Linked DNA regions of Homo sapiens: regions 1, 2, 3, 4, 6 and 7 are each linked to region 5. Evidence: promoter capture Hi-C in 16 types of primary human blood cells and fetal thymus (Javierre and others, 2016). All regions are on one chromosome and are shown on one strand. Each heading gives the region's core, a stretch centred on a gene start or on the middle of the fragment in contact. The rest is flanking DNA. Distances are from core to core; before and after follow the strand shown. Region 1 has its middle 160 kb from the start of RIPOR2. Region 2 has its middle 130 kb from the start of CARMIL1. Region 3 has its middle 140 kb from the start of RIPOR2. Region 4 has its middle 120 kb from the start of RIPOR2. Region 5 holds the start of KIAA0319. Region 6 has its middle 100 kb from the start of RIPOR2. Region 7 overlaps LOC105374981 (a long non-coding RNA gene).

Region 1 (3,687 bases), core at 1,060-3,559, 450 kb after region 5:
AAAAAAACCTTGCCTCTGCTACCCTTTTATTTCATTGAAGAAATAATGTTTTAATACCCCCAAATAGAAAGGACTTAGTCATGGAATAATAACAATTCATCCCAAGAAAAGAGAGTTGATATACATACCTGCTCTCTTACTTATTTCACTATTTGCCAGCAAAAACTTTGTCACAGACTGGCCATGGGCCCCAGCTAGGTTTCTGGGGATCATTGCTTTTGAGAATAGCAAGTATTATCTGGCATTAATGTTCAGGAATTGAAAGATAAACTTGGGAGTACTTCTTACCCTGAGGGTAATGAATACTTGTGTCTTAAGAGTGTGAGTGTTGTCCATTTCCTGATGACATCCCTAAACTTTGCTCCCCTGTACAACTTCAGGCATCTCATATAAGCCACAGGTAGCTGGTTACTCACTGACTTTGCAGTTACTCCTGTCCCATTTCAGACCTCCTCTTTGTCTTGCACCCTCTGTCTGCTAGTATTTAGTTTGCTTTTGGAGATCTGTCCAGTTTTGGTGACTAGGTTACAACATGAACTCTTTCTTAGCTTGTGGCTCTGTATGTATGTGTCAGGGCTAGATTAAGCTGCAGACCTAGGCCTAATTCTTAATTTGTGCAATTCAGCCTCAGCATAGCTGCAGACAAGGGTTACCTGCTTCTACCTCACCTTGCTCCGGGCGATTACCTCTTTGGGTGGATCCTACCTTCTAGCCCCACAGTTTAAATAGCTGTTCCTGCCATGCCAAAAACACTCACAAACACAAACAACAAAAAACACGTGGTGATAGCAGATAAAAGATGTTCCAAAAGAAAAACTTAGGGACTTCAGTACATTCTCTAAATATTCAACAAGAGATTGCTGATCAATTGTGAAATCTGTTCTCTGTTAGGCAGTTGATAGGACTTAATAAATGCTTATTGGAAAACAAAGGGGTGTTCATGTATTTCCATTATACAAGAAAGCAAAGACAAACAATAGCATACCCTGACCACAAGGTTGTAATCTTTAAATCCAGCCCAAGTGAAGTATTCTTTTATCCAGGATGAGTGAAGAAATATTTCATCTCCTAGAGCAGCATTCAAGATTTCCAAATAAGGTTCAAAATCCCAGGAATCCTTGTAAATTTTTGTCCCCTCTGGAGGCTCTATGATGCCCTTGCTTAAAGACACAAAGGTGTGAGAACAGTGAAAGAAAGTAACAAGTAATGAAGGCAAAAGTTAGTACTTAAGTAGCAAAAGTCAACCAGACTAGCAGCTTTGAGACCCCTCAGATAATTCACAAGGCGTCCCACAAAAGTGCCTCAGTGGTCCCACCATTGCCTAAATCAGAGCAGCTCCTATTGTCTAGTGTGATAGGTTTCTAAGTCAGATTTCATTCAAAGAAAGAAGTCTATGTCTAGAAAAAAACGTGTGAAAACCACTAATTTGGGCCTCTTTGTTCAAACAAGTAAATTACAGAAATGTTGCTTATAATCTGGCCATGATTTTGTGGATGCCTGCACATTCGTGCCTCCCCACCCCAATTAGAATATAAGTTTGGTGAAAGTAGCAACCATGACTGAACCCATAGGAGGTGCTCAATAAATATTTGTTGGATATATGGATGACTTTAGCCTATCTTTAAGAAATTCCCAGAACTTTGTGTCTCTAATATATGGTGCTCTTGCTGTCCTAATCAAAGCACAGCCAATAGACAGATGCCAGTTTTTATCCTTAAACCCAGCCAGTAATGTGGTAGAGTTCTCTGACAATCCTAGAATTCTGTCCATCCCATGTGAAGATGTATCCTTGCATAAAACATGGAATTTTAAATCCCAAGAATGGAATAGGATGTGATCTGGATAAAGAAAATATAAGGAGGGAAATAGGTGCCCATCTCATAAAGACGTGGCAGTAGCTGACCTTCTTCTCAAAACTATACTTTTATATGCCCAAAGCTACAGATGTACTGGTTTCTGTAAAAAAAAAAAAAAAAAAAAAAAAAAAAAATTTACCAAATCCTAAAGCTTCTTCCTTCTAAATGTATCTCAAATCTTCTTCTGCAACTCCTTGCCTTGCCTCAGTGTAGAGCTTCACTAATCTCTTTCTATAGAAAGCCACACCCTCCCAACCACTCTCCCTTACTCCAGTGGTTCTACCTGTTCCCCAGTCCATTCTCTGCAAAGCTGAAATGGTTTTTCTAAATAAAAACTCAGCAATGTCCCTTCTTTGCTTTATAACTTTCTGCAGCTCCCCTCACTCACAGGACAAATTCCCTGCACTGGCTTCTGGGGCCTTTCTCCGAGCCTGGCTGCCGCCTATCTCACCCTTTTCCTCTGCTTTCACTCACAAGCCCTCTACTTAGGAAGACAGATGGCTTCATGAGGGCAAAAGCCTCTTCACAGCTGTATCCTCTGTATCTGGGATGATGACTTGCACACAGAAGGAGTTCAATAAATCATTTCTGAATGAATCACATATATTTATGCCCTCATTCAAAGTATCCGCATTCACCAAACCCATTATACACTTGCCTTCTCCAGCACATGCCATTGTTTCTGACTAGAATCTCTTTCTCCTCTCTACTTACTCGTGACATCCTCCTCATCTCTAAATGCCAAAGATCCAGATTAAGCTTTCCTTGGTCACAATTTTTTCCTCTTCCCCTTGCAAGGCAGTTAGAGCACTTGGTCTCTGTGTGTCCTCTATACTTCGTCTTAGCTCTAAGACCCAACGGTGTTGACTTTCTAGTCACCCAGAATGCTTTGGTGAGGCACAAGAATACAAATGCAGATTCCTGGGCTCTACCTCAGATCTACTGAATCAGGATCTGTGGGGGAAGGGAGTCCAGGGATCTGGATTTATGTGAGTCTCTTCAATTATTCCTATGTTCATTAAAGCTTGAAAACTGCTGGGGCAATCGAAAGAGAAGATTTTTGGAGAGTTAGGCAAATGTAAAATGACGAAGGCTCTTGAATACCTTGCTAAGAACTGGAATAATTAAAAACCTTTAGACCTGGAAAATAAAATTAAAAACACTTTTATCCTGGAGGCACTAAGGATATCCTACAGAATTTTAAACAAGAATGTTTGCATTTTAGAAAGGTTACTTTGTCAGCAATGAAGAGCAGGGGCTTTCAAACATTTTGCCTATCATCCCAGTAAAGACTACATTTTACATTAGGACCCTGGAGTCCCCCTACCAAGGGTACCTATGAAACGGAAGTTTCATGAAATAATACCCTTGTTACATGCAATGTACTCAGGTATTTTCTATCCTATTCCATTTTATTCTATTCTATTTCATGTTTAAAACATTGGCTGTGAGCAATGGCATTAATTTTGTGACTTGCCAATGGATTGTGACCAGCAGATTGAAGACACTGGCATGAAAGATGGATCAAGGGAAGTTGTGGGGGAGGCACAGATACAAGTTGGGGGGCACTGCAGGAGTCTAAGTGAGAAATTTTGAGAGGCAGAATTAAGGCCAGGGCAGAAGAGGCTGGAGACGAGTGATGGATTTGTGAGTGCTTTATGAAGGAGAATTGACCAGATTTGATAACTCGTTTAATATGGGAAGTTAGCAAAAGACAGAATGAGCTGATTTATCATTCATACTGACTTTGCAGAGGTAAGGCTGGGAGAGGGTGAGCTTTTGGTAATTGCATGTACCACTCTCCAAAATGTTAGTCCATTTCCAAATAGCC
Region 2 (3,917 bases), core at 484-2,983, 500 kb after region 5:
TGGGATTTATTCCAGGCATGTAAGGCTGGTTCAACATTCAAAAGTCACTAATATAATGTATCAAATCAATAGGCTAAAGAAGAAAAGTCACATGATCACATGCATTTGATAAAATCCAACACTCATTCATGATAAAAACTCTCAGCACACTAGAAATACAGTGAAACTTCTTCAGCTTGATAGAGAACATTTACAGCTGGGCACAGCAGCCCATACCCATTAATCTAAGTGTTTTTGGGGGTCAACACAGAAGGATTACTTGAGGCCAGGAGGTTAAGACCAGCCTGGTCAACATAGCAAAACCCCATTGCTAAAAAATAAAAATAAAAAAGCGCCAGGTGCGGTGGCTTATGCCTGTAATCCCAGCACTTTGGGAGGCTGAGGCAGGTGGATCGCCTGAGGTCAGGAGTTCAAGACCAGCCTGGCCAACATGGTGAAACCCCGTCTCTACTAAAATACAACAATTAGCCAGGCATGGTGGCCTACGCCTGTAATCCCAGCTACTTGGGAGGCTGAAATAGGAGAACTGCTTGAACCCAGGAGGCGGAGGTTGCAGTGAGCTGAGCTCATGGCACTGCACTTCAGCCTGGGTGACAGAGTGAGACTCCATCTCAAAAAAAAAAAAAAAAAATTAGCCAGGCATGGCAGTATGCATCTATAGCCCTAGCTACTTGGTAGGCCAATATGTAAGTATCACTTGAGCCCCCAGTTCAAAGCTGGGGTGACCTATGATCACACCACTGGACTCCAGCCTGGGAGACAGAGCAAGACCCTGTATCTTAAATAAATAAATAAATTAATTAATTAATTAATTAAAACATCTACAAAAAATGAGAAAGTAGAAGCTTTCTTACTAAGATAAGGACAAGGCAAGGATGTCGTCTCTCACCACTGCTTTTCTACATTGCATTGAAAGTTCTAGACAATAAAATAGGGCAAATAAATAAATAAGTGGTATACAAATTGGGAAGAAAGAAGTAAAACTGTTTTTGTTCACAGATAACATGATTGCCTATGTAGAAAATCTGAAATAATCAATTCTTAAATGTGGGCTGCACATAGAGACTTCCTTTCATAGAGACTTCCTTTCAAAGAGTACAGTATGGAAATGATGAAAAAAAGAGTAACTTTAACAGTAAGGAAATGTGACAATCCGTCAATATCAACGGTGATAAATTATGTTAGAATGTAACTTTAATATGATGTGGTCTTCCTCCTGCAAACCCATAATCCCAGTCTAACCATGAGAAAAAAAATCAGATAAATTCCAGTAGAGAGGTAACCTATAAAATACATGGTCTGTACTCCTTGAAACTCAAGGTCATCCAAAACAAGAAAAATCTAAGTAAATATTACAGCCAAGAGAAGCCTAAGGAGACATGATAGCTCCTTAGCTAATGTGATGTGGTATCTTAGATGTAACCCTGAAACAGAAAAAGACATTAGGTAAAAGTAAAGAGACCTGAATAAGCTACTCAGCACATTAAGGCAAGAAAAAAAAAAGTCAAACACATAAGGAGTGGAAAGAAAAAAAATCATTTTTGAAGATACTTAGAACTGACTGTATACATAAACATTCAGAAGAACCCACATATAAATTATAAGACTCTGAGAGTTTAGTACAGCTGTTAGATATATAATCAATAGTTTAAGAAATCAATTTATTCTCACATCAGCAATAAAAAATACAAAAATTGAATTTAAAAATATATCATTTAAGATAGCAGAAAAGGCTGAGGTGGATCACCTGAGGTCAGGAGTTCGAGACCAGCCTGGCCAACATGGTGAAACCCCGTCTCTACAAAAAATACAAGATTAGCCGGGTGTAGTGGCACATGCCTGTAATCCCAGCTGCTCAGGAGGCTGAGGCAGGAGAATTGCTTGAACCCGGGAGGCAGAGATTGCAGTGAGCCGAGATCGTGCCATTGCACTCCAGCCTGGGCAACAAGAGAGAAACTCCATCTCAAAAAATAAATAAATAAATAAAAATTAAAAGATAGCATAAAAAATGAAATATCAAGAAATACATTTAACAAAAGATGATCTCTTTGGAGAAAATTATAAAACTCTATTGAGAGATATTAAGTGTATCTATAAACGAAGAGTTATATTATGTTCATAGATAGGAAGCTCAATATTATGAAGATAATCAATTTACTCCAAATTTATCTGTAGATTTACTATAGTCTCAATAAAACCCCCAGAATTTTTTTTTTTTTTTTACAGCTTAAAAACTTACTCTAAAATTTATTAAGATATGCCAAGGGCCAAAAAGAGAAAAAACATTCTTCAAGAAGAACAAGGTGGGAGATGAGAGAGGATTTGTCCTAGCAAATATCAAGACTTATTGTAAGCTATAATAATTAAGATCATATAGTGTTGGCTCAGTGGTAGATAAAATAATCAAGGGAACAGGATAGAGGCCTGGAAACAAGTCCACATATACACCAACACTTGATAAGTGACACTGTAGATCACTAGGGAAAGGATAAATGTTTCCACTAAACTTGCTGGGGTAACTGGGATCCCATATTGGAAAAATAGATTGGACTCTTTCCTTATTCCATAGATAAAAATCAATTTCAGACAAGTTAAAAGACTTACATTTAAAAGATAAACAATCAAGCTTTTGGAAGGTATTTAGGAGAAATTTTTTATAATCTTGGGACACGGTGGATTTTTTTCAACAAAACACAAAAAGCTCTACCCAAAAGGAAAATTATTGCAATTTTAGATTACACCAAAAGAACATATACACCCCAAAACACAATAAAAGAGTAAAAAGGTAAGACACATAATGAAAATTTGCAACATAAATATGACAAAGGATTTCTATGCAGAATATAGAAGAATGTCTATAAATCAATAAGAAAAAGACAATCTATAAGAAAAATGGGCAAAAAGGTTTGAATAGGTACTTCATAAAATAGAATATCCAAATTGTGACTAACTGTATAAACAGAGCTCAGCCTCACTAGCAATGGGGAAGTGAAAATAAAAACCACAATGAAGTACCACTATACTTACCAGAACAACTAAAATTAAAACAACTGCAAGTACTAAATGTTGATAATAGGAGTATGGAAACTCTCATATGTTACTAATGACAATGTAGTGAGGTTCAATCTCATTGAAAAATAGTGTGGCATTCTACACTAAAACAGAGAATACACATATACTGTCACCTAACAATCCTACTCTTAGCTAAGTCTCAACACTGGAGAAATATGTGCATATGTTCTTCAAGATACATGTACAAGAATGTACATCACAGCATTATTCATATTACATTTGAGTATATTACATTGGAAACAATGCAAATGTTCATCAACAATGAAATGATAAATTATGTATTTATATGTTATGTAAATTATACGCTATAACAGTAAAGTAGCATTCTGTGGAACACAAAAAGACAAATAAACCAATTAAGACTACTTGTAACAACGTGCACCAATGCCCAGAAATAATATTGGATAAAAAGAACAAAACACACACACACAGAGGCAACGTGACTCCATTTAAATAAAGTTCCCTAACAAGAAAACTAAAGTGTATTGTTTCAGAAAATGAGAAAAATATTACAAGAGTCAGGGTACTATATATCTTTAAGGAGAGAGTTTTAATCAGAAAGGAGCACATATGTAGGATGCAATTAAAGCAAGACATGGGGCAAATTTGTAGCTTTAAATGGCTATAATAGAAAAGAAGAACGATCTTAATAATCTTAAGACTTCAACTTCAGATCTAGAAAAGGAAAAGCAAACAAAACCCAAAACAAGTAGAATAAGAAAATAATAACAGGGTAAAAATAAAAGAAGTAGAAAAAACAAAAAAAATAGAAAATCAGTAAAATCAAAAAATGGTTCTTTGAAAAGATCAGCAAAATTGGCAAACCTTCAGGTAGATTGAACAAG
Region 3 (3,751 bases), core at 773-3,272, 430 kb after region 5:
TTTATGGTTTTAGGTCCTACGTTTTAAGTCTTTAATCCATCTTGAGTTAATTTTTATATAAGGTGTAAGGAAGGGTCCACCTTGCACTTTTGTGTTATGAAGACTGCTTCTTTCCTTAAACCTCGTGAACCAACTTCTGCTAGCTTCAAACTTGTCTTCTACAACTTTCTCACCTCTCTCAAACTTCATAGATTTAATAAAGTTAGGACTTTGCTCTGGATTAGGCTTTGGCTTAAGGGAATGTTGTGGCTGGGTTGATCTTCTATCCAGACCACTAAAACTTTCTCCGTATCATCAGTAAGGCTGTTTTCTTATTTGTGTGTTCACTGGAGTAGCACTTTTAATTTCCTTAAAGAACTTTTCTTTTGCATTCATAACTTGCCTAACTCTTTGGTGCAAGAGGCCTAACTTTTGGCCTATCTTGGCTTTCAACATGCCTCTCTCACTAAACTTAATCATTTCTAGCTGTGGATTTAAAGTGAGAGACATGTGACCTTCTCTTCCTTTCACTTCAATACTTACAGGCCATTGTAGGGATCTTAATTGGCCTAATTTCAGTAGTGTCACATCTAAGGGAATAAAGAGGCCAGAGGGAAGAGAGGAAGATGGAGGAATAGCATGTGGGTGGAGAAGTCAGAACCCACACAATATTTATTAAGTTTTCTGTCTTATATGGGTTTGTGGTGCCCCAAAACAATTAGAATAGTAACATGAAAGATCACTGATCACAGATCACAATAGCAGATATAATAATAATGAAAACATTTGAAATATGAGAATTATCAAAATGTAACACAGAGACATGAAGTGAGCCCCTGGTGCTGGGAAAATGGCTTGATAAACTTGTTCAGTGCACAGTTGCCACAAACCTTCAATTCACACACACACACAAAATGTAATATCTGTGAAGTACAATAAAGCATAATAAAACAAGTTGTGCCTGTAAAGTGCTATTTAAACATAAGTGATATTTTTATAACTTAGTTCTTTTTAAATGTGCATTGTACGTCTTTCTGGATCAATAAACATAGAGCTACCTCATTGTTTTTAACCACTACATATTAATATAATGTGATTTACTGTAATATATTTATTTCCTAATTGATAGATGCTTATTTCTTCTAAGCTCTAAAATGATACATAATTTTGCCAGTGCCCTCTCTTGTACATTTATCTCAGTGCATCATATTAGTAAATTAAGCTTCTTTTCATTTATTCATTGGCCATTTGTATTTCCTTAATTTTCTCTTAACTCCTGGGTTCAAGTGATCCTCTCATCTCAGCCTCCCGAGTAGCTAGGATTACAGGCCTGCACCACCATGCTTCGTTAGTTTTTTTGTGTCAGTTTTTCTTTCAAAGCAAAACTGTGTTCCATGAAAAAAGATGGCCAGTGTAGTTCATGGCTCAATAACGTAGGCTCCTTCCCTCGGGACAGCCGTCACACTTGAGTATGGAGCAGAAGTGCTGTGCTCACTCTTCCTATAAAACATGTACTCAAGATTCTTACTAAATTTATACACTTAATAAAATCAGTGCTTTCTCTTTTTTTTTTTTTTTTTTTTTTTAGACATAGTCTCGCTCTGTCCCCCAGGCTGGAGTGCAGTGGCGCGGTCTCGGCTCACTGCAAGCTCTGCCTCCAGGGTTCAGGCCATTCTCCTGCCTCAGCCTCCTGAGTAGCTGGGACTACAGGCACCCACCACCATGCCCAGCTAATGTTTTGTATTTTTAGTAGAGACGGGGTTTCACCATGTTAGCCAGGATGGCCTCGATCTCCTGACCTCCTGATCCACCCGCCTCAGCCTCCCAAAGTGCTGGGATTACAGGTGTGAGCCACCACGCCCGGAAAAATCAGTGCTTTTTCTTGCAACATCATGGATGTTAAATAAAACAAACTTTTTTTTTTTTTAACTGTAAGCACCTAATACAATGACAGCATGGTTTGATGCCTCTACCTCCGTCCAGAATAAGGTGTCAGTACTTATACACACTACAATGTAAGGGTCAACAAGTGGAGGAAATGGCAAAAAAATTTAGTATTATTTTGAAAATAGTTCTGACCTCAAGGACTTTGCAAAAGGGTCTTGGGACCTCCATGGGTCTGTGATCATCACTTTAAAGAATTGCTTCAGGCTGGGTGCGGTGGCTCACACCTGTAATCCCAGCACTTTGAGGGGCCAAGGTGGGTGGATCACAAGGTCAGGAGTTTGAGACCAGCCTGACCAACATGGTGAAACCCTGTGTCTACTAAAAATACAAAAGCCGGGCATGGTGGCGGGTGCTTATAATCCCAGCTACTCAGGAGGCTGAGGCAGGAGAATCACTTGAGCCCAGGAGGCGGAGCTTGCAGTGAGCCGAGATTAGGCCACTGCACTCCAGCCTGGGCAACAGAGTGAGACTCCATCTCAAAAAAAAAAAAAAAAAAAAGAATTGCTTCAGTGGAGAATTCCATGGTATGAATATACCACAATTTAATCTTCTCCTGACGGGTATTTGGGGGTGCTTCCAGGTTCCTATTAGAAAAAGGGATGCTATGAACATTCTTACAGATAACATGTGTTTTTGTGAATACATGTGTACATTTTTGTTGGGTATATACTGACGAAGGGGATTATGGAGTCATAGATTACACGTATGTTCACTTTAGGGGTGCCTAATGATTAACCAAAGGGATTGTACTAATTTATACTCCCACCAGCAGAGTATGAGACTTCCTATGGCTCCACATCCTCAGTGACACTTGAAGTTGCCTTTTTCATGTTAGCCATTCTGGTAGATGGGTAGTGGTGTCTCAGCGGAATTTTAATTTGCCTTTCCCCAGTGAGTAATTAATTTGAGCATCTTTTCAAAGCTTCTTTTGTGAGTGGTTCAAAATTTTCTATTACTATATTATTGGTCTTTTAAATTTGTAAGAGCCCCTCTGTGGCTTACCTTTTTATTCCCTTAATATCATTCTTAGTGAATAGGTTAATAGTAGCTTATGAATAGGTTATTAAGAGCTTAATAGGTTATTTTGAGATTTACATATCATAAAATTTACGCTTTTAGATGTACAGTGCTATGAGTTTTGTCAAATGCATAGAGTTGTGTATCCTCCACCACCATCAAGATACAGAACGGTTCCATCCCCTGCAAAATTTTACTCATGCTGCTCCTTCATAGTAACTGCCTCTCCCTCCCACTACACTCTGGCAACCATTGATTTGTTCTCCATCTATATATTTGTATTTTGAGTCTGGCTTCTTTCATGTGCTGTAACGCATTCAAGATTCATTCATGTTGCATGTGTCAACAGTTTATTCCTTTTAATTATGAAATAGTATGTCATTGTATAGATGCACTACCTTTTGTTTAGCCATGTGCCAGTTGACAGGTATTTGAATTGTTTCCAGTTTAGGAGTAATTCTGAATCAAGCTGCTGCAAACATTAAGTTTTTTGTGAACATATTTCCATTTCTCTTGGGTAAACAGCTGTGAGCCATGAATAGAGTTTATATTTACTGTAGTCTAATTGTTCATTTTTTTTCTCTTGATGGTTAGTGCTTGTTTGTGTTCTGTTTAAGAAATCTTGTCAGCAAGGTCACAAAGATATTTCCATATATCATCATGTAGAAGTTTTATTGTTTTGCTTTTCACATTTAGATCTATAATTCACCTCACACTGATTCCTTGTTTCTGTTATAACATAGGGGTCAAGGCTCCCAGCATATGATATCCAATTCAACTAGCATATTTATTTAAAAGACTGCACCTT
Region 4 (4,299 bases), core at 1,519-4,018, 410 kb after region 5:
GTGTTCTGAGCCAAATATGAATGATCATGTCCTATGACACAGCCCTCAGGAGATCCTGAGAACATGTGCCCCAGGTGGTCAAGGCACAGCTTGGTTTTATACATTTTAGGGAGACATGAGACATCAATCTAATACATTGAAGCTATACAATGGTTCAGTCCAGAAAGGCAGGACAACTCAAAGTTGGGGTGGAGCTTCCAGGTTACAGGTAGATTTAAAATTTTTGTGGTTGACAATTGAGTTTATCTAAAGACCTGGGATCAATAGAAAAGAAATGTCTGGGTTATGATGAAAAGTTGTGGAGACCATAATTTTATCATACAGATGAAGCCTCTGGGTAGCAGAGAATAGATTGTAAATGTTTCTTATCAGCTTTAAGGTCTGTGTTGATGTTAATGCTGGTCAGCTTTTCCTGAATTCCAAAAGGGAGGAGAGTTTAATGAGGCAGGTCTGACACCCCCTTCCCATCATGGCCTGAACTAGTTTTTCAGGTTAACTTTGGAATGCCCTTGGCTAAGAGGAGGGTTCTGTTCAGATGGTTAGGGGGCTTAGAATTTTATTTTTGATTTACAACACCCAGGAGTCTAGTTTGAGTGGCTCATCACCTAGGCATAAAAGAAAGTTCCTATGCATTGAGTTTAAGCTTCAGAAGATAGAAATCTAGACACTGCCTGGAGAAACAGATACAGAAATAACTATGATATTTCCCTGACCCCTTAATGGGCGGAAACTGGAGTGCAGGGGTGCTGGAACTAGCCAGCCACTTCAGCACCAGCAGGGGTGAATTCCACTCACTCATGGGATGGGGAGCACACAGGTGAGCAGGTGCAGGAGGTGGGGCAAGTGCTTTTAGGCACTAGCAGGAGCAAAACTCTGTGCAGGTCCCGAGGCAGCATCTGGCGCCTGCGACCTCTGAAGGCCCAGAAGGAGTGTTACAGTGCCCTTTTAGCTTTGCCATCTGCAGACAGCTTAAGTGTTAATAGCTCAGTGGAGCATCAGCACGATAGCCTTTTGCAACCACACTCATGGCACCCAAGTTCTTGTCCGGCATCCAGGAGGAACGAGGTTGCACAAACAAGTTGAAGATGGTAAATGCAGGGGACTTTATTGCCAATGAACGTGGCTCTCAGCAGGAAGGGGAGCCAAAGAGGGGATGGAGCAGGAAGGTAATCTTCCCCTGAAGTCTGGCTATCCCCAGTCAGACTCCTCTCTGAAGCTATGCCATCAAGCTGTCCCTCTGAAGTCAAGCTGCTTCTCTCCAACTTCCAACCATAGTCCTCGTTGTCCAGCTGCTTCTCCTTTCTCTGCTGGCCAAGCCTGGGGTTTTTATGGGCACAGAATGAGGGGCAGGGTGGGTTATGGGTGGTTTTGGAAAGGGCAACATTTGAGCAGGAAAGCAGGGATGTAAGTTCTCACTTTGGGCTGCAGTATCAAGAGTTTCAGCTTGAGAGTGGGGACCTACCCAGGGAACTGCCCTCTTCTGCGCAGAATTTCCCTGCTTCCTGTTCCTATCAACAGTAACTAGGTGTCAACTTACTAATTTAGCCACCCAGTGGCTGTCCCAAGAGCCCTCTAAATCTGCAATCACTGGAAGGCCTCACTGAAAAGTCTTCCTTTCTTCTGTGATTAAGGGCCTGATATTTTAACTTTTAGAATAACTTATTATGCAAATAGTGACCAATTGACATCAGTGGAGCAGAGTTGCCTTTATGAGTCAGAGTAGAGACAAGAGAGAGGTCTGTTTTCTCTCTTGATTAAATCAGCCCCAACGGAACAGCCCTGATTTAAACAGAAAAACATTTTTAAAGTAGTGATCTGTTTAACTTTTGTGGTGAGCTCCCTCTGGAGAAATATCTAGATGTAGAGGAGAAATATTTCCTTATTATACTTAGTTTTAAAAAGTCACTTTTTCTTTGACCTTAATGCCATGAGATTTGGATCCTTTTCAGTCTCGGCAGAAGAGAAGTGGGTTAAAGACTCCACCACCCGAAGGCAGCTTCTCTTCTTTTTACCTATAAGTAAACCATGAAATCAGAATCTCCCAGAACTTCAGAGCCAATGAGACCTCAGACATCACTGCCCCATACCTTCGTTTCATGGTAGAGGGAACAGAGCCTCAGGAGGAGAAATGTCTTGTCAACAGCCACAAAGCTAGTTAGTTCCTAAGGCATTATTAATAGTTCTGACTCATAGCTCAGGGCTCTTTCCATATTCACAAACCATTGCAAACCAGACTTCCCAGTTATAAAATATATGTGTTTTTCACCAATGTTTTAAACATTGTATTTTATGTGTGAGCAACCAGCATAACAAAGACCATCTTTTAAAACTTGTGCTATGAAACCAGAGATTCTCAAAAGTTTCATGCAGCTTGTTCCCAAAGGGACATCTGATTAGAGTAACATCTATTCTTATACATTTTTAGGATGGAGGAGGAAGCAATTGAAGGGAGATAAAGAAAGGAACAATAAGGGGTCTTTTCTCCTTGACATCTCTGCCAAGGCACCTTGACTCATGAGAGTGTCCAGCCTACTTGAGGAAAATTGTCCAAGAAGTCTAAAGGTTTCTTCCTTATGAGGTTAATTCAATTCACTTTTTAAAAATGTAGTAGGCACTGGGCATACAAAGATGAATGATACCCTTTATCCTGGGAGCTTAAAATCCAATGGAGAATGTAGAAGATACACAATACAGGTGGCCCTCCATATCTGTGACTTCTGCATACTAGGATTCAACCAACCTCAGTTAAAAATATTTGAAAAGGCTGGGCGTGGTGGCTCACGCCTGTAATCCCAGCACTTTGGGAGGCCGAGGTGGGCGGATAATGAGGTCAGGAAATCGAGACCATCCTGGCTAATACGGTGAAACCCCATCTCTACTAAAAATACAAAAAATTAGCTGAGCGCGGTGGCGGGCGCCTGTAGTCCCAGCTACTCGGGAGGCTGAGGCAGGAGAAAGGCATGAACCCGGGAGGCGGAGCTTGCAGTGAGCCGAGATCGCACCACTGCAGTCCGGCTGGGCGGAAGAGTGAGACTCCGTCTCAAAAAAAAAAAAAAAAAAAAAGGTTTGAAAAAATAAAAAATAATAAAACCACAATAAAAATAATACAAATTGAAAAGCAATACAGTATAAGGACACAGCATTTATATGTATTAGGTATTATTAGCAATCAAGAGATATTTAAAGTATATGGTAGGTTGTGCGCAGGTTACATGCAAATACTACACTAGTTTATATCAGGGATTGAGCATCTGAGGATTTTGGTGTCCTCAGGGGTCTAGAACTGATTCCCCACAGATACGGAGAGACAACTTGTCACTATACTACCAGATACAATGTGATTGGTGTCAGAGCAGCAGCAGTAAGTCATTTAGGCACCCAGAAGATGGAGAACCAATTCTGACAGGAGGAGGAAACTCAAGGCAGGTTTGGGGAGGAGGTGGCGTTTGAGCGATACTTTGAAAGATGGGGAATGAATCCAGGAGTGGAGAGGAGTGAAGAGAAGGGCATTCTTGGCCAAAGACACACAAGAGCAAAGGCTGTGAGGGAAGACGACATACCGTTATGAATGGGATGAAAGAAGGAGGGAAGGTTGGGAACAGAGGGTGCAGCCTGTTCCCAAAGGCAGGCCTGAGGGGAGGCCACTGCTGGAGGAAGCACAGCCTTTCTAGTTGCAGTAAAGAAAGAGAAGCTAGCCTTGGCATCGTGGGCCTCCTTCACCACTTGGGTGCCCTTCCTCTTCAGGAGACCACAGTTCTCAGGCTTCCTCCCTTCACCACAGCTGGCTTGAGCAGGAAGTATGGTAGATACTCATTCATACCACAGGGTGTTGCCATGGAAATGGATCAAAGTAAGGTGATATCCGAAGAGAACAGTAGCTGCCACTTAGAGCCTCAGAGAGGGGAGAAAGCCTTAATGGAGACTTCACACTCTAAGGTGTGGTCCAGAGTGTGCCTACGACCCAAGGCACCAAGACAAGACCTATCACCAGGAACTACCTCGCGAACTAAGCAAAATCTCAACAGAACAATGTACACCCACATCCGAAAGAAAATATGCTGGCGTGTAAAAAAGGAAGAAAAACTACCAAGAAAAATTAAACATTTCAGTTAACTGGCCAACGTATTTTAAAATGAAACAAACTTTTAAAAATACAAAAATATAAGCATTTATTGAGTGCTTACTATACACCAGACTTTGTGCTAAAGGTTTTTGAGGCATTATCTCCCACACACCTGGAAGTCCAAATCACAATCCAAAATGTGCTTAGTGAGAGTGGAATCTGAACCAAGTCTAGTT
Region 5 (3,989 bases), core at 939-3,438:
TCTACATACAGCAGTGCCTCAATAACATAGTTTCATTCAACGTTGGTGACAAAAAAATTCCTGGCCAGGGCCACTGTCTATGTGGAGTCTGCTCATTCTCCTCATGTCTGCGTGGGTTTTCTCTGGGCTTCGGTTTCCTTCACATCCCAAAGCTGTGCATATGTCTACATGGTCCCCGTCTGAGTGAGTGGGTGTGTCTGTGAAAGTGCACCCTGTGATGGGATAGCTTCCTGGACAGGGGAGAGGGGGGGGTTCCCACTCTGAACCAGGGAGACTCTGGCTACCCATGACCTTGAACTGTAATAATTGGGTAAATAATGATCTTGTTTTTACTAATCCTTCTTAACTGTATGTATAGATCCCATTTATTTCTATGTTTAATATTAGAAGTGTTGTGGTCTTTATTTAGAAGTTTGGTGATTTTTTTATGACCAGAAATATGCTGTAGGAACTTAACTCTTGTTTATATCAATTAGCCTGTGGTAAAATTGGTTTCCTTATACCTCGTTGTGCTTAAAGGTTCACAGTTTCCAAGAACGTATCAAGAATGTTAAGTGAGGACTTACTGTATTTATTTAAAGAGAATGCTTCCTATCTATTGGCTAGGGAAAAAAAAAAAGTCAAGAAAATTTAACAGCAACTCTATTCTTTTACATTCATACATTACCAAAGCTCTCTTTTGGCTATTTTTAATTCATAAAGATTTTGGCTGAATTATTTTCATTATTTCGAAACAAAAATTAAGTTCTTGCCTCGGCATTTTGCATTACAAATGCAAATGCATTACAAATGGTTAATACAAATAAATCAGAGTACTTAGGTAATATGTTTACATTTCCCTTTTTCAAATTACAGAGGAATTCACCTTTCTCTGTGACTCCTACGTCTATAACTGAACTGACACCTCCAGTTTTCCTCATCTGAATTAAAAATAATACTAAAAAAAGCACAAAATAAAAGTTTAGATTTGGCATAACTTTAGTAGTCTCTACAATTGTGGTCTTCTTATAATAAATTGAAGCATTTGGAAAGTGAGCATGTATTTCAGGAATAAAGAAATAAATACCAACATTTACTTCCAAAATTCTTGTGTGTGGGGGGGAACATTGTCTACAATTTATTTTTTCTGTTACTATCAAAAACATCATTCAACTTTTCAATTCAAGCAGTGGAAAAAATACTAACATTTCACCGACAAACAAAAATGTTTTGATGAACAAACCAGCAATAAAAGTGCACATGAGTATGTATATCATATTTTTCCTCCTTGTATTTAATTAACAAATGACCTTAAGATGATAACTCTCAAAATTTCAGGTTTATCCTCCCGATTAATTTGTGACATTCCTTGGAGGGAATTCAAAGGGAAGAAGAGAAAGATTTTAAGCTTCAGGTTATGGTAAGGAACAGAGACAAAATGCATTTAGCAAATAATAGGAAAGATCACATAAATAGTTCTGAATGAAGTTTAAAGAAAACGATTCCTTACTTCTAAAAAAATGCAATTCGTGAGGTTGGGAAAAGACACTCAAATTTCCCCGACTCCACCCTACTAGTCAACAATCAGTGCAGCAATCAAAAAATGCCCTTTCCTGAATGCCCAGAAGAATCTTAAGAAACTCACCTTCTGAACTCAGGGCGTCTCGATTCTACTTTTGTTGGGTATTGGCCTGCCTACTGGCTGCCCTCTTTCCTATTTCTCGGCCAGGCGCTCTGGGAAGTAGATACCGTACCTGTGGTCACTGCTGGCGACACTGAAGCTCGCCCCATGCGTTGCTGCTGGCCCTGAGCATCACTCGCCGTCCCACTTGTTCCTCCTCGTCGTCATCGCAGGTCTTACACACACACACACACACACACACACACACACACACACACACACACACGTTCACACCCTCGCGCGCGCACCTGCTGTTAAGAGGTACAGCCCCACCCCAGCAAAATCCTCGCTTCCTCTTCCCCGGGACGTAGCCCCAGAGGAGCGAATCTGGACCAAGCCCAAGACAGGCTGAAGCTACTGCTGCGCTCTCACCTCCGGCAGTGACAGCGAGCGCCGCCGCCGCTCTGCGCGGGGCCAGCCAGGCCCGCCGAGGGCAGCACAGGTGGAGCAAGGTTGCACCCCCGGGGGATCCCCGCCCACCGCCCGCGGCAGCTTCTGCAGGCTCGGGGAAAGCGCGCGCCAGTGATTCAGCGCCTTTCCGCCGCCGCGGTTACCACGGCGACGCGCGCGCACGCGCACACACGCCCTCAGGGATGTGGGGCGCGGCAGCCGCCCCTGCCCAGCTCCCCTGCTCAGCTCCCCTGCTCAGCTCCCCGGTTGCGCTCTAAGTACCCGCACCGGGGCGACACACTCCCACCCCGCAGGGGACCAAGCAAAAGTCTTTCGTGAACCTGAGCGGCCTTCATACCCTACCTGCTTTCCTTCACCAAGCCCTTCCCTGTCACCGTGGCCCTAAACAGTCTGGGGGATGAACACTCCTTCCAAATAAACACCCGGGCCAGGGTGGCTCAAGGGAGCCGTGGGTGCACTGCCTGGGTCAAACACCCTTCGCGAATGTGTCCCCCAGCTTGTCCCCAGCTTGTGTCACCCCAGCTACACAAGTTCCATTCTTCCAGTGGGAGTCTCTTTGGCCCCTACTCTGTAATTATCTTTCTATTTTGAGCAGGTGCTTTCTGACTGAGACTGGGAACCTGTGCTAGGAGGGGCTCCCATCACCTCCAGGCCTTGCAGGTTAACTGGATGCCCAGTATAGTTTGACATTTGCATCTTGAGGAACGTGATAATCTAAACCACAGAAAACTTGGGTGGAAGACTCTTGCATTTTTACTGTTTTAATAAAGATGCGAAAGCATCTAGGGATAATATCATGAGCAGAAAAGGTAGCCAGGGCATTCCTCGCACATCTCATTACTAGGAGGTATAAGTGCAGTGCTTAGGGCTGAGTCACACACTGTTGATGAATAAGCTTCTTGGCTACTCGTATTTACCGAAGAGCCTCAGACAAGTTACCTAATCTAGATAAACCTGTTTCCTCAATTATAAAATGAAGATAATAGCATTCATATAGGATGATTCTGGGAATCAAATAAGATAATGCACATTTAAAGAGTAAAAACCAGCTGGGTGCGGTGGCTCACGCCTGTAATCCTAGCACTTTGGCAGGCCGAGGCGGGCGGATCACGAGGTCAGGAGATCGAGACCATTCTGGCTAACACGGTGAAACCCCCGTCTCTACTAAAAATACAAAAAATTAACCGGGAGTGGTGGCCCGCGCCTGTAGTTCCAGCTACTTGAGAGGCTGAGGCAGGAGAATCGCTTGAATCCAGGAGGCGGAGGTTGCAGTGAGCCGAGATCGTGCCACTGCACTCCAGCCTGGGCGACAGAGCAAGACTCCGTCTCAAAATAAATAAATAAATAAATAAATAAATAAATAAATAAATAAATAAATAAATAAAAACTAAAGAGTAAAAACCTGTCCAGGACTCAAAGAGTGAAAATCAGCTTGGACTTGGAAAAGTTAGTACTGCCAATGATCAATGATCAGGCTGAGAGGACAAAGTCAGAAGCAAAATTAACAGGCAATGTTGTTTCCTCTGAAGTCACGCAGCAGGTACAAAACAACACAACTCCTTGTGTTCCATTTTTGAATGACTACTACTTTCTACCTTTGCTTTACTATTCCCATCCATAACTGGGGATACCCAATTGCTAAACTCCCTTCACCTCCTGACAGCACCCAATCCCTCATTAATCCCCCTTTCTCTCAATCTGCCTCAGAAACAGCAACCAACTGGATCCCAGCTCTGATTCCAAGACTCTCCCTGGAATCCTTTAATAGGAAGCCAAATCTTTACAAAAGACACTTCCTCCTTTCTGTGCTCACATGGCATTCCACAGGTACTCTTTCAATGCATCAAGCCAATGAATCTGATTTTGTCCCCAACGATCCTTGGCTGATTAGCCTTTAAAGAAACATATTTTTAGCACA
Region 6 (3,927 bases), core at 326-2,825, 390 kb after region 5:
CCGGCGAAGCAGAACAAGACAATTAAGTCACATTGACACTGGGAGGAAGTCGCCAGTGGTATCTCTGAGACAGCAGATTCCCTAATCTCAAGTGCATATCAGCTTTGTCACTGTTGTCTTTTCAGTGGGACAGAGAAAACTCATTTCCATTCCTCTGATTGGAGTCCACAAAAAGTGCTAACCAGTGGCTGCCTCCATCAAAGCTCTACCTAACAGAGTTCAACGGGTTTTTGTTTTGTTTTGTTTTGTTTTTTGAGACAGCATTTGCGCTGTCACCTAGGCTGGAGTGCAGTGGCATGATCATAGCTCAGTGTAACCTCCAGTTCCTAAGTTCAATCAATCCTCCTGCCTCAGCCTCCTGAGTAGCTGGGTTTACAGGCACACACCACCATGCCCACTAACTTAAAAAAAAATGTTTATAGAGACAGGATCTTGCTATGTTGCCAGGCTGGTCTCTAATTCCTGGCCTCGAGTGATCCTCCCACCTCAGCCTCCCAAAGCATTGGAATTACAGGTGTAAGCCACCACGCTAGGCTAGAGTTCAACTTTTTAAAGAGGCGAAACAAGTTCCAAGTGGGCTCTGTCATCTGGTTGCATTTACTTGTACTGAAAATAGCCTGGAGATCCTCTGTGGGGGCAAACACTCCATTTTCCCAGAAGAACAGGAGTCACACCCCTAGGGGCCAAGATCAGTTTTTCCCTAGTGTATCTGTGTTGCCTCCTGTGTGGTGTGGTGTAAGCCAGCTGAATGTGAGGGTAGGGTGCCTGGCTGAGGAAGATGGGGATGCCTTCTCCAGTATGACATGTCTCCCATTATTTTGGGAAAAAATGTGGAGGTGGCAATGGTAAGCCCTTCATACTGCCTCAAATGCCACTATTACCATTTTTAGGCCCTCAGCTCCCAATAGCTACATTGCCAGGAACTGTGCTAGGCACTTGACATATTTTATGTCTTTTAATCCCCTCCAATAACAATGGGAGGTGGGTGTTACTGTAATAAGCATTTTAAGGTTGAGGAAGTGGGCATTCAGGGAGGTGGAATAAATTGCCCACAGGCCAACAGCTAAGAAGTTGTAGAAGCAGGATTTGAAGCCAAATCTCCTGGTTGTCAAAGCTTATATACTTTTCAGGGTTTCTTTCCTTTAATCGCCCACCCCAACTGTGGCAGACTAAAGGAAAGAAAGGCTCTCGGGGCATTCAGTTATCTGTGCCCACCCCTCATTCCCGTGCCCTGCCCTGACCCTGCTGTCATCATGTAGAAGGCCCAGGCACCCACGGGCTGTTGCTGTGTCTATACTCCTCTTTACCTGGGCAGGTCACAGGTAAGCAGCTTGACAGGGTTTACAGGACACCAGATAGGTCCTTCTCCCGAATGTCTGCTCAGTATCACACATGTGTGTCTTTGTAGTGACCTTTGGCCTCTTTTAAAATTCAAATATCCCTAAGAAGGGTAACATATTACCGTTCTCATACCTTGGTTTGATTATTATTATTATTTTTTTACTACACTGCTATGGACTAGAAAAGAAAATAAATATTTCATTACAGATTCTGGGGGTGAAAGGAAGAAGTGAGGAAGGCTTAGGGAAGATGAACTTTGGGATCCATTGCTTTACTATGAGTTTAATTTTGATGGAACCCAAACGGTTATTGAGTAGATGAGGTACCAGGTATTTTACTAAGGGTTACAGGCATGCAGAGCTTATTAAGGATTTGTTCTCACCTGGGGAGATTTGAATATGGTCCGGGTATTAAATAATATGTGGGGATCATTGTTAATTTTATTACGCAGTTATGTAGAAAAATGTACTTATTTTTTAGAGACGCTCTTACTAAAATGTCATAATGTCTGATTTATTTTTAAATGTTTCAACAGGAAATTAGATGAAGCAAATATGGCAAAATGTTAATAATTGTTAAATTTAGGTGATAGATATATAAGATTCATTATACTATTTTCTCAACTTTACTGAATGTTTGAAAATTCTCATAATAAAAAGTAAAACAAAAACAAACAAATGAGCAAACAAAAAACCTAAAGCTTTCCAGTAGCTCAAAATCGAAGTTCTATTGCAAAGATGACAATTAGGTTTTGTAGTAAGCAGAATTTGAAGATGGCCCCACGATTCTTGCCCCTTGGCATACAGGTTCTGTATAGTTCTTGAACCTTGGGTATAAATATGATGAGATTTTACTTCTGTGATTAGATTATGTTATATGGCAAAAATGAGGGATTTTTCAAATGTAATTAAAGTCCTTGATCAGTCAATTTTTAACTAATCAAAAGAGAGATTATCCTGGGTGGGCCTGACCTAATCAGGTGAGCCCTTTAAAGAAGAGTCTATAAGCAGCAAAAGACCCTTGTTGGCCTTGAGGAAGCAAACTACCATGTTATGGAGAGGGTCATGTGGCAGAGAACAATGGGTGGCCTTTAGTTGCTGAAGGCCTCAGGCCTACAACTGCAAGGAACTAAATTCTGCCCACAACCATTGAGCTTGGAAGGAGACCCTGAGCCTTAGATGAGATTGCAGCCCCAGAGAACACCTTCATTGCAGCCTTGGGAGACCCTGAGCAGAGAATCCAGCTAATTCATGCCCATGGAAGCTGTGAGATAAAAAATGTATGTTGTTTTAAGGCAATAAACTTGTGGTAATTTGTTACAAAGCACTAGAAAACAAACATAAATTTCAACCAGTGAGGCAATTCTAATTGATTAGACATGGCAGCTTAAGGCACTATATTAGAAAGGATTCCAAGCCAGGGCCTGGCCCCCGTGGGGAAAAAGGAGAGAGCTGTGGTTGATTACCAATGTCTGCATGGGCATGGAAATGGACAGTGGTGGCACATGTCCCTCCTATCGCCATTCAAGGTCCCTCTGTGTATTTAAAGAAAAGGGGTTTACTAATTTATTTTTCTTAATGACAAAATAACCCCAAAGGATTATATAACTTGAGTCCCCAAGTTGGAGGAAACGCTGACCTATGAGAAAAGCTTCAGAGAAAGAAGACAGGAAACGTTATCAAAGCAGATTTTAGCAGCTGCAAAATATTGTTGAGGGCCACCCTTGCAGGCTGACATTTGCAGTGATAAGCGTCCTTCCCTCGCAGGTGTCTTCACTCTTTCTCCCTTTCCACTTTCTCTGATTCGCTGCCTGCAAACATGCACAGGTCTTTTGTGAGTTGGAAAATGCAACCCTCCAAAAATGTCACTTGATCCTGTTCCTGTTTCTAACTCACACTGACTCTCATGCAGCAGGGCTCTTGACCATCCTGGAAGAATATCAGAATTCCCTCCTTAGGCATTATGCCAAAGAGGTCAGGACCAGCCTGCTTAATGTTGAGCTTACATTCAACATCTATTAATATATCATTTCATATTAAAACCATGCAGAAATCAGCACAGTATTCAGATGTTAGTCTCAAAATTTAAGTGAAATTTCTGTAGTAAAGCAGGCTTTTCTGATAACTCTTATTTTAAGAGTATAGGCCGACTTCCCATCCATACTAGTGAAACCATGCAGATCCATAATCCAGCTTTTCTCAGTGACGGATTCCATAACGGAGGTATTGGATTAAAACTTAGGATCACAACTAATTTCCTACAGATATAGAATGAAGTTTCATAAAAACTGGAATTTAAATTTAAGGTACGCGCAAGTAAAAGAAACATGATCAAGAAGGTAAAGGCCCAGAGAAAACTGATGGCTTCTTCAATTATATCAAAGAAAAAGAAGTATTTTGCTTGATGCAAATTGTTTGCTTGTCTTTGAATTGTCATTTGGAATCCAACCAGCTCAGCTTGCCTCCGAAACTAGTAGACTGTGACTATTTTGGATACATGTTCCTAAGCCACTCATTCATCTTAATTTAATTGTCTATACCAGGGGCTTTTAACACATAAGGAAGAGTTGCCAACATATAACTAGGC
Region 7 (4,220 bases), core at 1,172-3,671, 300 kb after region 5:
CATATCAGGAAGAGGACCATGAGGCTTAGTCACCCAAGATGGGAAATAAAACACCTTTACAAGTGGAAATTTATGGCACTTAAAGCAGAAAGGAGAAGGGCAGAAGATTCTTTCTCAAAAATAGCTCAAAATAGTACTTATGCTAAATTAGCATATTTTGGGGGACACATTCTGATCCCCTTCGAATCCATATTAGAAAAGAAAGACTAAAGATAGGGAAATTCAGTGCTTAGTTAAGGGAGATGTAGGTCACAGAGAGTAGTTTTCACTAAGAAATGAGGAGTAAGTCTGAAACAACAATGAAAGAATCTTGCTTTTCAGTGATTGAGGCAAACAGCTCCAATAATTGGATTTGGGGAAGAGAACAAAAGTATAGATGAACCAGTATAAGGCAACTACTTTGATCAAATGGTGATTTGTGACAACCTGTACTAAATTTAACAGCAGAATTTCATCAAGGTCATAAGCACAGGAACATAGCAAAGCTTTTATACTCCAAAGAGTTGGTGCCCACTTTATGCCATACTAGGTCTGTGAATTACAATGATATGAAAGGTCTGGTCCTTGCTTTGTGGAACTTTACTCACTTCATTCATTTGGAGAATAGTAATGAATACCTACTATATTTCAGGTATGGTGTGAAATATTTAAGTAAATATATAAGTGAGAAGGCATGTGTTGTGTTGAACATATGAATATCAACACAGTATTATTATTTTGAGTTATGAGAATTGAGGCTATAATAATTAATAATTTATTAATTTAAAATATTTCTGCATAGTTTGCTGTTTTGAAAAAAAATACCACCTGTGAAGCGTGTACAGGAGGAAACCATACTAGTGGAAAAATTTCAACATCCAACGTGGGCTTTTATTCCAACAGAAGAGCCTCACAATCTTCTCTCTGTGCTTCTGGAGAATTTCCCACTCCTTTCAGAAAGTGTTTTAAAATACTTAATTTTCAGATATACAAACTTCTGAACAGGGAGAAAAACCTGAACTAATTAGGAGCAAAATGTTCGAAACAGAAAGGAGAACAAAGTAGGAGAGAGGAATTGAAACTGTGAGGAGTGGTAGGAATCAGAAAAGAAAAAGGTGAAAAAAACCACAGAGTCAGAAATAATCTTATCTTTGGGTAACTTTGCCAGTAAAGATGCACCTAAAAATTTGTCTAATTTGTCTAACTGTAAAATGCCATGTCTAAAGAGCTGGGACAAAAGGAATACGATTTTTTTTTTTTGAAACAGAGTCTGTCTCTGTCGCTCAGGCTGGCGTGCAGTGGCTCGACCTTGGCTCACTGCAACCTCCACCTCCCGGGTTCAAGTGATTCTCCTGCCTCAGCTTCCCCAGTAGACTAGCTGGGACTACAGGTGTGCGCCACCATGCCCAGCTAATTGTTTGTGTATTTTTAGTAGAGACGAGGTTTCACCATGTTGGTCAGGCTGATTTTGAACTCCTGACCTAAAGTGATCTGCCCGCCTTGGCCTCCCAAAGGGCTGGGATTACAGGCGTGAGCCACTGCGCCTGGCTGGAACATGATTTTTAATAGTATTCTTGTTTTCATGTTGCAAAGAGGAGGTACCAATCTCATGGGTACAATCTCATGAGGGTTGTCTCATGAGGAAAACCCTCCCAGAGCCTTTAGAAGTCTTCCTGCCTGCCTCCCCCAGTTTCAGGCGCATCATTAGGCTGCAGGAGCCACACTTAGAGTCACTTACTGAAGGTGCTGGGGAAGCCTGACCAAAGTCCAGGACTGTTTCCTTCAATGGGACTAAAGACAATGACGGTAATTGCCCGCTGAGGGAATCCATTCCTTCCACTTACGAAAGAAGGAGAAGAACCCAGCAAACGAGAGTTCTATGGCAAGACTCACATTGGGTATGGTTGGCAAGGTCATAACTATGGGTTAAAGGTATGACTGCTGGGAGTGGTTAGCTTGCAACTAGAAACAGAAAAAAAAAAAAGCATATAAAGGCACTGGTTCTGGGATTTGACAGGGCTGAGTTACAATCTTGGCTTCGTTACTATCTAGCTCTTTGACTAGAGTTAATAATTTCACTTTGAATCAGTAAAATGGAATAATAATAATCAATTACTGAGTTAAGGGACAGTTCAGCCCTTTCCCACTAATTGTCCCAAATTAAAATACAATCTATATTAATACATTGTGCTATCAATGCAAACACAACTTCAAGACCCAGTCCCTAGTCCCTGGCCTTACCCTCTGTCTCAACCAGAATGTAATCACAAAGCCTCTCCAATAAAGAAATCCTGTAGCTGCTACTGATAATAAAATTTACCTCTCAGGGTTTGGCAACATTAACTGAGATGGGAATCCTTTCCTGTGGCCCTACCATTGACTTTAAAAGCATTTTCAGGGATCACTGTACAGTCTGCCCCTCCTCCCCTTTTTTTAACCTCAAGACAAATTTCTTGGTGTGGGAGCTACAGAAAGTGACAGAAGGGGTGGAGAAAAGATACACAGGAAAATAAACTTTAAGAAGACAGAAAGGAACAGTCTTCCATGTCTGTGAGAGATGTGGGGAAAGTTTAAGGAGAATTACAATCCTTCCTCCCAGAATGTGACCCCAGACCCAAGACAGCCAAAGAAGGCAAGATGAGAAGATATAACTTTCTCAACTTTTAAAGAAAGGCATGCATTTTGTGCACCCTAAATCTTATAATGAAAGATTGCTTGATAGCACATAAGTCACTGGGTGGCAAAATAAGAGACAATATAAAATATTGTTATTGAAAAAATGAATTTTATTTAATGACTAGTACTTGATCCTTTGGTAAATCACAAACTTTCTAATTATTTGTTTTCAAGGAACTGAAGGAAGATCTTACCGAGTTGATACTATGGGATCAAGAAATGTATTTTTAAATAATAATTTATTACATGATATTTGACATACGATTGACAAAAAATTAAAAGAGATTGGATATTAGAGAAAACGCTGACATAAAGACCTTTAAAAAGCCTTTCTTTGGGTATATACCCAGTAATGCAATTGCTGGGTCAAATTGTATTTCTAGTTCTAGATCCCTGAGGAATCGCCACACTGACTTCCACAATGGTTGAACTAGTTTATAGTCCCACCAACAGTGTAAAAGTGCTCCTATTTCTCCACATCCTCTCCAGCACCTGTTGTTTCCTGACTTTTTAATGATTGCCATTCTGACTGGTGTGAGATGGTATCTCATTGTGGTTTTGATTTGCATTTCTCTGATGGCCAGTGATGATGAGCATTTTTTCATATGTCTTTTGGCTATATAAATGTCTTCTTTTGAGAAGTGTCTGTTCATATCCTTTGCCCACTTTTTGATGGGGTTGTTTGTTTTTTTCTTGTAAATTTGTTTGAGTTCATTGTAGATTCTGGATATTAGCCTTCTGTCAGATGAGTAGGTTGCAAACATTTTCTCCCATTCTGTAGGTTGCCTGTTCACTCTGATGGTAGTTTCTTTTGCTGTGCAGAAGCTCTTTAGTTTAATTAGATCCCATTTGTCAAATTTGGCTTTTGTTGCCATTGCTTTTGGTGTTTTAGACATGAAGTCCTTGCCCATGCCTATGTCCTGAATGATATAAATCATGCTGCTATAAAGACACATGCACACATATGTTTACTGCAGCACTATTCACAGTACCAAAGACCTGGAACCAAGCCAAATGTCCCACAATGATAGATTGGATTAAGAAAATGTGGCACATATACACCATAGAATACTATGCAGCCATAGAAAATGATGAGTTCATGTCCTTTGTAGGGACATGGATGAAGCTGGAAACCATCATTCTCAGTAAATTATCGCAAGGACAAAAAATCAAATACTGCATGTTCTCACTCATAGGTGGGAACTGAACAATGAGAACACTTGGACACAGGAAGGGGAACATCACACACTGGGGCCTGTTGTGGGGTAGGGGGAGCAGGGAGGGATAGCATTAGGAGATACACCTAATGTTAAATGACGAGTTATTGGGTGCAGCACACCAACATGGCACATGCATACGTATGTGACTAACCTGCATGTTGTGCACATGTACCCTAAAACTTAAAGTATAATAATAATAATAATAAAGCCTTTCTTCCATAAAAGCAATAAGAAACTGGGAAAATGGCCAGTATCGACTTTTGCAGAAGGCTGGAAATTAACCAAAGGCTTACAGCAATCCAGGAGCATTTATTCAAGAAAAATGGCTGAATTTCAATAGAACAA

Evidence for each region. Contacts are between HindIII fragments. The CHiCAGO score rates a contact against its expected background, and 5 or more counts as called.
Region 1: a fragment that was not itself captured here is called in contact with the fragment with the promoter of KIAA0319 in region 5 in 5 of 17 cell types (neutrophils, non-activated CD4 T cells, naive B cells and 2 more); the score reaches 9.8 in neutrophils.
Region 2: a contact is called between a fragment that was not itself captured here and the fragment with the promoter of KIAA0319 in region 5, in 7 of 17 cell types (neutrophils, naive B cells, non-activated CD4 T cells and 4 more). The highest score is 10.0, in neutrophils.
Region 3: a contact is called between a fragment that was not itself captured here and the fragment with the promoter of KIAA0319 in region 5, in 9 of 17 cell types (neutrophils, total B cells, naive B cells and 6 more). The highest score is 17.3, in neutrophils.
Region 4: a contact is called between a fragment that was not itself captured here and the fragment with the promoter of KIAA0319 in region 5, in 1 of 17 cell types (neutrophils). The highest score is 7.5, in neutrophils.
Region 6: a fragment that was not itself captured here is called in contact with the fragment with the promoter of KIAA0319 in region 5 in 2 of 17 cell types (neutrophils and total B cells); the score reaches 7.2 in neutrophils.
Region 7: a contact is called between a fragment that was not itself captured here and the fragment with the promoter of KIAA0319 in region 5, in 1 of 17 cell types (neutrophils). The highest score is 5.1, in neutrophils.

The regions. Positions count from the first base shown.
Region 1 is chr6:25,092,529-25,096,215 of GRCh38, forward strand. It overlaps the pseudogene CMAHP. Among named protein-coding and RNA genes, the nearest start is that of RIPOR2, 160 kb to the left of the region's middle. The HindIII fragment of the contact is 608 bases long and covers 2,006-2,613 here.
Region 2 is chr6:25,144,318-25,148,234 of GRCh38, forward strand. No RefSeq gene overlaps it. Among named protein-coding and RNA genes, the nearest start is that of CARMIL1, 130 kb to the right of the region's middle. The HindIII fragment of the contact is 1,781 bases long and covers 844-2,624 here.
Region 3 is chr6:25,074,927-25,078,677 of GRCh38, forward strand. No RefSeq gene overlaps it. Among named protein-coding and RNA genes, the nearest start is that of RIPOR2, 140 kb to the left of the region's middle. The HindIII fragment of the contact is 1,647 bases long and covers 1,200-2,846 here.
Region 4 is chr6:25,052,538-25,056,836 of GRCh38, forward strand. No RefSeq gene overlaps it. Among named protein-coding and RNA genes, the nearest start is that of RIPOR2, 120 kb to the left of the region's middle. RefSeq lists enhancers at 1,569-1,738, 3,719-3,848, 3,989-4,048. The HindIII fragment of the contact is 4,254 bases long and covers 642-4,299 here.
Region 5 is chr6:24,644,003-24,647,991 of GRCh38, forward strand. KIAA0319 reads right to left here and starts at 2,189. Exons shown (of 21, transcript NM_014809.4): 1 at 1,734-2,189. RefSeq lists a silencer at 2,034-2,243. The HindIII fragment of the contact is 1,579 bases long and covers 1,386-2,964 here.
Region 6 is chr6:25,036,157-25,040,083 of GRCh38, forward strand. It overlaps a transcript of RIPOR2 not described here. Among named protein-coding and RNA genes, the nearest start is that of RIPOR2, 100 kb to the left of the region's middle. The HindIII fragment of the contact is 927 bases long and covers 1,113-2,039 here.
Region 7 is chr6:24,939,425-24,943,644 of GRCh38, forward strand. The region is part of intron 2 of LOC105374981 (a long non-coding RNA gene); the gene reads left to right. It also overlaps a transcript of RIPOR2 not described here. Among named protein-coding and RNA genes, the nearest start is that of RIPOR2, 5.6 kb to the left of the region's middle. The HindIII fragment of the contact is 3,876 bases long and covers 484-4,220 here.